Regions from separate parts of the Homo sapiens genome. Here region 1 is linked to region 2. The links are contacts of gene promoters, found by promoter capture Hi-C in blood cells and fetal thymus (Javierre and others, 2016). All regions are on one chromosome and are shown on one strand. The core of a region is centred on a gene start or on the middle of the fragment in contact, and the rest is flanking DNA. Distances in the headings are between cores, read along the strand shown.

Region 1 (3,976 bases), core at 690-3,189, 170 kb after region 2:
AGATGATTTTTGACAAAGGAGCCAAGATGGTTCAATAGAGAAAGGATAATCATTTCAATAAACATTGCTGGGAAAACTTGATCTGGACACTTCTCTAGCAGCATATACAAAAATTAACTCAAAATGAATCAAAGACCTAAATGTAAGACCTAAAACTATTACAAAAAAAAACAAAAAACTCTTAGAAGAAAAGGAACATCACACACCGGGGCCTGTTGTGGGGTGGGGGAAGCGGGGAGGGATAGCATTAGGAGATATACCTAATGTTAAATAACGAGTTAATGGGTGCAGCACACCAACATGGCACATGTATACATATGTAACTAACCTGCACGTTGCGCACATGTACCCTAAAACTTAAAGTATAATCAAAAAAAAAAAAAGAAGAAGAAAAGATAACAGTAACCCTTCACAACACTAGATTGGGAAATAATTTCTTGGATATGATACCAAAGGCACAGGCGACAATAACCAAAAAACAATAGACAACTGGACTTCATGAAAATTTTAAAAATTTTCTGCTTGAAAAGACAACATCAACAGAGTAAAAACACAACCCACAGACAGAACTTTTTATTTTCAAATCATATATCTGATAAGGAATTAATATTCAAACTATATAGAGAATTCCTAAAACTCATCAACAACAACAAAAGAAACTGACAACCTGATTCAAAAGTGAGCAAAGGACTTGAATAGCATTTCTCCAAAGATCTACAAATGGCCAAAAAGTATATGGAAAGATGCTGAACATCACTAATCACTGGAGAAATTCAAATCAAAACTATAATGAGATACTATCTCACACCCATTAGGATGCCACTACCAAAATAACAGATCATAAGTGTTAAGAAGGATGTGGAGAAACTGGAACATCTGTACACTATTGGTGGGAATGTAAAATGGTTGGCCGCTGTGAAAAATAGTATGGCAGTTCCTCAAAAGATTAAAAATAAAATTACCATATAGTCCAACAATTCCACTTCTGGGTATATGCCCAAAAGAACTGAAAACAGGGTCTCAAAGAGCTCCTTGTACACTCATCTTCACAGCGCATTACTCACAATAGTTACAATGTGGAAGCAACCAAAGTGTTCATCAGTGAGTGAATGGATAAGCAAAATGTGGTAATATACATACAATAGAATATTATTCAGCCTCAAAAAGCAAAGATGTTCCGACATATGTGACAACCTGGATGAACTGAGGATATTATGCTAAGTGAAATAAGCCAGTCACAAAAAAGACAAATACTCTGATTCTCTTTATATGAGAGGTACCTAGAGTAGTCAATCAGACACAGAAAGAAAACAAGAATAGTGGATGCCAGAGGCAGGGGAGAGGGAAGAATGAGGAGTCATTGTTTAACAGTTACAGAGTCTCAGTTTTACAAGATGAAAAGTTATGGAGATGCATGGTGGTAATAGTTGCACAACATTATGAATGGATTTAATACCACAGAACTGTCTACTTAAAAATGGTTAAGCTGGTCAATTTTATATGTACTTTATCATAATAAGATATGTAGTCACAATTTTATAATAATTGAAGTCAGCTTAATAGTCCTTAATATTCTGATATATTCAGTTTGCTTCATTCATAAAGCAATTATTATACTTGGTTAGTATTGTCCATGTAAGTCTATGAATAATTATTATAAATTATGTAAGTCTCTGGAGGAAAAAACGAAGAATAATTAATTTCAAAAGGGACCAGATAATTTATAGATTTTGTTCACGATATATACTGGCTGCTTAAGCTCAGAGAGTGGGGATATTAAATTTTATTTTTATTATATATTTTTTGAGTTAGGGGTGTTGCTATGCTGCTGAAGCTGGTTTCAAACTCCTGGCCTCAAGTGATCCTCTGGCCTCAGCCTCCCAAAGTGCTGGGATTACAGACATGGGCCACTACACCCAGCTAACACTGAATTTTAATGGAAATAGCGTTGGAGAGATCCAGGAGAATAAATTTCAATTCCAACATTGTTAAAAAATAATCAGAGTCTTTCTGCATCCAAATTAAATTTAAAAATAAAGAAGTTAGGTGCTTAAAAAACAGAAAACAGAGCCAAACATAAAGCACTACAGAATAAATATTATCCTTTGATAAAGACGACTTTATTGCTTATACTAATAATGTAAAGAAAATTTGTTTTTAAAAGTTCATGGCCGGGCGCGGTGGCTCACGCCTGTAATCCCAGCACTTTGGGAGGCCGAGGCGGGCGGATCACGAGGTCAGGAGATCGAGACCATCCCGGCTAAAACGGTGAAACCCCGTCTCTACTAAAAATACAAAAAATTAGCCGGGCGTAGTGGCGGGCGCCTGTAGTCCCAGCTACTTGGGAGGTCGAGGCAGGAGAATGGCGTGAACCCGGGAGGCGGAGCTTGCAGTGAGCCGAGATCCCGCCACTGCACTCCAGCCTGGGCGACAGAGCGAGACTCCGTCTCAAAAAAAAAAAAAAAATCATATCTCAGCAGCCTTAAAGAAAAGGCCTGTTATATATGACCTATTTAACTATGAAAGGCCAAATATAAACTTAGAAATAAACTCCTATTAGATCCAGACAATATTTGGGAAGAAGCAACTATTACAGAGTTGACAAAGAGGAAGGTCAAGAGGCAGGGATGGCTGTCTTCCTTCTGGGCTTCTCTTCACAAAATTTTCTCTACTCCCCCAAATCAGCCAATTATTACAAAGCTGATCACACAAAGAATATCCCATCATGTTATAGTGGCTATAACTAGCAATGTAGAAAATAGATTCAAAATTCTTCCTAACATCCTAGCAGAAAACCTGCATTCTTATTCTGCCAAACTTACATATTAACTGTAAATTGACAATAATATAGAACCCTGAAAAATGTGGTCCATTGAGAACAAGGATAAATATAGCAGGTATGATGTAACTTTAGAAGCAAGCATACAACGTTTCTAAATTTATAAATGGTACATTTAATTTAAAACAAAACTATATATCTAATCAAGTACTCTTTATGATATCGATAATTTTATTTAGAAAAGATTCATGTTCAACAGAAAGAAATATAATAGATATCTAGCATTAAATAGGCTTTGAAAAATAATACAAATAAAAGTACAGCCCCAAGTCTTGAAAAACTTATGGTCTGTTTTTAAATAATGGTTTAAATGAATCAAATGAAAGAAAGGCAACCTTAGAGATGACATTAAATTATAAATTATTATAACAGAAAACAATTATAAGAATTATAATACTTTCTTGGCCTTTTGGCTAAGATCAAGTGAAGATGCCACTGGTCTTTAAGAAAAAAATATTAATAGTAGAGTATACTCCGGAATGATTTTGCAAAGAAATGTGTTCTGCACATGTTCTTTAGTAGGAATCATTGTCTCTTACCCTCCGGGGACTCTGTCTGGCCGTCCACTACTGACACAGCTGGCTCCATAACCTGTACAGTCTCCACAGACAGTGCAAACCATGCACTGCTCCAGCTTCCATTTGTGCATGCCTGGAGGGCACATCATAGACTTCTCATCTTTTTCATCTAGTTCTTCTTCCAGGTCTTCATCCATTGCTGTTGCCATATTTTCAACTCCAAACCCTATTTGACAGATCAATTTGTAATTTTTATACAGGTTACTTTCATGTATAAAAGATGGATGACTATATTTCCCAGTTTAAAAAATGACAGCATGCTAATCCAAGCAATTATACAAAGAAATGCTTAAATTTGAGTAACAAAAATAAATTTTAATTTAGGGACCACTAATAAACACTCTCCCCATTTCATTTCTGCAAAAGAAGGCAAGGAAGGCTATTGTCAAATGTCTCTTGGCTGTTACCTTCTGTCAATCATACTTTTAAATCTTTTCCTGTTTTCCATCCTCACTACCAACACTTTCATTCAACAGACCAAAGAAAGCCTCCCAACCATGCTCCAAGCCAAGAGTTCCCCACTCTAGATCATCCTCCTACTGCCACCAATCACCCTCCC
Region 2 (4,089 bases), core at 111-2,610:
TAGCATTTTGGATTTTCAGATTTGGAATGCTCAACCTATAACATAGAGGAAGCCTGTTAAAAGGAAAGTAGATGTCAGCTTACATGTTGGGAATTTTGAAAATGAATACTGTTATGATTATTTCCTCTTAGAAAAGACAGAAGTGTTAAATTGATTGCAATCATTGTTCTGAGGGAGAGTATGTCCTTGCTTAAAATGTACCATGAGCCAAAGATAGCTTTGCACTGAACAGTGAGTTCTAGCTACAAAAATGTTTTGCTTTGTTACACTTGACTTTCCAGTAAGATAAAGTAGTTACACCAGTGGAAATTCTTAGGTCTGAGGAGGAAATAGCTCATATTATATTAGCTAAGCCTCTTTTACTTACTCAATACCAGGGAGGAATAGAACCTGCACTGATGTACAGGAGTTGGAGGTTGCTCTGATTGCAGACTGGCCTGCATCCAGGTTATCTGAGACCCAATCCTACCACTGTGGCTCTTCCTGAGAAAGGAAATATGCAAATGGCACAGGAGAAGCCAGGCAATGGTTCAAGGAGAGCCATTAATACTGTATCTGCTAGCAAGCCACATCCATTCTGAGGAAAAAAATTCTAAATGAGGTAGAAGAAAGGCAGTCTGGCAGTTAGTGCTATTTCTTTCTTGGTTGTTAATACTCAAGCAAATAGGACTCTTTTTTCTTGTTTAGTGCCTTTTATAAAAGAATATTTAATTCAGTTGAAACACATGGATGAACTAGGCTGAAGAGAATATAAATTATGATTATTTGGGACAGTCTGAAACTTATTTTTTATTTCATGAGGACTGTGGCAAAGTAGACACTTGAAGATAGGCTGGGTGCAGTGGCTCATGTCTGTAATCCTAGCACTTTGGGAGGCTGAGGTGGGCAGATCACTTGAGGCCAGGGGTTTGAGACCGGCCTGGACAACATGGTGAAACCCTGTCTCTACTAAAAATACAAAAATTAGCCAAGCATGGTGGCGTGTGCTTGTAATCCCAGCTACTCAGGAGGTTGAAGCAGGAGAATCGTTTGAACCTGGAGGCGAAGGTTGCAGTGAGCCAAGATTGTGCCACTGCACTCCAGCCTGGGTGACAGAGGGAGACTCCATCTCAGAAAAAAAAAAAAAAGCTGATTACACTATAGGTCAAAGATTATTATTAAGTGCCACCAGAGTAATACAAAAAGAATCAGCAGAGGGAAAGAGTAATTTTTTAGAGGAGTTACTTAGAATTTCTCTGCTGAGTTTGAGAGACCCTGGAAGAATTGATCAGCAGAGTTTAAGGGGAGGACTTCCAGGTCACGGGAAAATCTTAACCAAGGGAATGGCAGCAGAAAATTGTAGAGCAGACTTTCATTTTGCTTAGCTGTAGCCATGGTATATTTGTAATCAGACCTCTTTTCAGAAATGGAATTCCACAGTGCTCCCAATCATATTAATTTGTTTTTAGACTTAAGATTTATTTGGGGATTATAGCAATGATGTTTGGTTGGTGAAATTCCAGGTGATAAAGCTTGTTGCTAAATTCAGAAATGAAAGTGCATGAATACTAAGATCTGAAAAGAGCTAAAGAGCCGTAAATCACGTTTGCTTTCTTACCCCAAGATCTCGGGAATTGTCCACGTGAACAGACACATAGCGGGCATTGATTCCTTTTACACAGTTGATGGTGATGTTCTTAGTTTTGTTTTTATCTTCATCTCCTGATTCCCAAAAGGTTTCTGTGGAGCCGTCTGTCAAACTGCCAATCATGGCAGGTCGGCTTGAAGTTTTTATGTCAACAATGCTGGTTAAGTCCTTTAAGCACATTACTATGCATAATTCCTATCAGAAACAAATATAAGTACTTATGATACTTAAAAGCAAATCTTTCGTGATGATAAAACAAACAGGTATAAGATAAAACATAATGGAAGACAGGATCAAATTGATTATGAATAACTTACAGTTTCTCCTTTGATGTATTATTAACTAACAGGACAACCAGGATAATAACTGAAATGACTGACCTGACTCATAGCTTCAAAGCCAGACTGTATACTGATGCTAAAACTCTCTTCACTATCGCCATCATCTGACTTTGACAAAATATTGTTAATGTGATGAAAGACGTTGCTCTGATGAAGGAACTGGTGATCAGATTGCTTGAATTTGAGACTCCAGCACCTAAAAAGGCGATATATAAGCAATATACGAAATAATTATTTTCCAGGAACATCTAAGGAACTCTTAGATGAGTACTCTGTAGCTAATATCTCAAGAAATTTTAATGTTCTAGTAACAGACATTTTAAAAATTCAGGGAAGAAAATCATTCCTATTGTTTTTGTTTTTGAGAAATAAAGGTAACTTCTTTGGAACAAGGTAAATTCTAAGGAAAGTTGACCCATTTTAAATATAAAAGAATTAGACAGATGAAGATCAAGGCTACAGAAGCAAAAAGGGTAATGAATCTATTGTGTAAACAAGTGGTACACCAACTGCAACAACCCCTCAAATTTATTACTCTTACAATGCCATACTAATTCATCAGGGTATAGTTTATCTTGTAGTTCAAAAATCTTGTGAGGAGGACAAAGAGAAATCTCTCTTCCACTGGTCTTATCATTAGTAACATGGGAAGCCCAAGCATTCCATCAATCTATTTCTTGTATACATTAATTAGGAGAATTTATTTATAAGTGTGAGTCCAGTATGTGAATCTAGTAACAAGGTTCACAGTGTAAAAGCAATGCTAAATTCTCAACACATTTCAAATTGAAATTGGAATCTGTTGAGCATCTGTGATGCTCCTTAAGGTGCTTTTAGGACTGGGTGCATACAACCAGGCTCTGTTTTCCCCAAGATTCTTTTCAAGTCAAAACTCTATTTTGGTTTTTGTTTTTGAGATTTCATTTTCCCTCTCTCTTTTTGGGACATTTAAGTGATTTGAGGTAGGAGACTGGGGAAAGTGAGGGAGATTGCTACAGTGATAATTTAGGGCACTAAGAATTACATTAGCCACATTTTACAGGAGGGCAAACAAATGTTAACTAAGAGGAAGGACCATTCTAAAAATTATGACTGTAAGGAGGGAGGCACCATCTATATAATGTAGGGATTCTATCTTACTATTTAAAGAGCTTTTTTTGGAGCATTTCATACTTTGAATATTCCATAAACTCTCTTGTCCAATGTACCTAGGATATGTGGATACCAAAATTACCTCAGGGCCATTTGCTGTAATGAACTGCCGCTGGGGAGAGACATCATAAGGTCTGAGATGGTCTGCAGCAAGCGGTGAAAGGTGTGTGGTAAAGGATGAGCAGCTTCCCCGGCAATCACTATGTCTGAGAGTGGATGTTCACATACTCTTGTATCTTTCTCCTAAGGCAGAAATTGAAACAAGTTTATCAGTTTGTGTGCTGGAAGGAATCCTCTTCACAAAAGACTATTATGTATACTTAAAAAATGGTCATGTAACAGAAATACAAACAACAAAACCAAATTGTACCCAGAAAGATACAGTAATTTTAACTAATTATGCTTGTATTATTTTAGGGAAAAAAGCTGTAAGTTTAGTCACAAGCAAAATCAGCATGCAAATGAATAAATGTATCAATTCTAGTGTACTCACAAAGATACCTGTAGGGTGAATCCACATGTGTATGCATGTGTATGTGTAGTGTGTGTGCATATATATGTATGTGTATGGATATATACACATACATATATGTAGGTATGTTTTGTGTGTATGTTTATGTATAAAAAATAACATATGTTTAGAAGTTGGGGTGGTCACTAACTCATACAGCATTTTTATGTGAATTAGAAAAAAAAGCTCCTTTCTACGCAAATGGACCACAGCTAGGAAAGAGAAGTAGGGGTTGAATTTCATTTCTCATTACAACCCTCAGATGGCTCCATTAATAATATTAACTATGGAATAACTTTTTATTATTTTGAGTAGATAACACACATCATAATAAAATATTCAAGAGGTATAAAAAAATACCATAAAAAGTCTCCCTGTCTCTACAGCCCAGCCACCTAGATGCCCTCCCACTGGCAATTTCTATTACCAGTTTCTTGGACTGTCTATAAATATTGTTC

Evidence for each region. The method cuts DNA at HindIII sites, captures the fragments that hold promoters and counts their contacts. A CHiCAGO score of 5 or more calls a contact.
Region 1: a fragment that was not itself captured here is called in contact with the fragment with the promoter of MYCBP2-AS2 in region 2 in 3 of 17 cell types (total B cells, monocytes and naive B cells); the score reaches 8.2 in total B cells.

Annotation. Positions count from the first base shown.
Region 1 is chr13:77,247,773-77,251,748 of GRCh38, forward strand. MYCBP2 (MYC binding protein 2) reads right to left here. Exons shown (of 83, transcript NM_015057.5): 15 at 3,379-3,583. Among named protein-coding and RNA genes, the nearest start is that of MYCBP2, 77 kb to the right of the region's middle. The HindIII fragment of the contact is 5,367 bases long and covers 1-3,976 here.
Region 2 is chr13:77,079,830-77,083,918 of GRCh38, forward strand. It overlaps MYCBP2-AS2 (MYCBP2 antisense RNA 2), which reads right to left and starts at 1,361. Exons shown (of 2, transcript NR_170173.1): 1 at 1,085-1,361; 2 at 682-832. MYCBP2 (MYC binding protein 2) reads right to left here. Exons shown (of 83, transcript NM_015057.5): 63 at 3,203-3,363; 64 at 2,008-2,164; 65 at 1,598-1,822. MYCBP2-AS1 (MYCBP2 antisense RNA 1) reads left to right here. Exons shown (of 4, transcript NR_046716.1): 3 at 3,181-3,283. The HindIII fragment of the contact is 5,615 bases long and covers 1-1,509 here.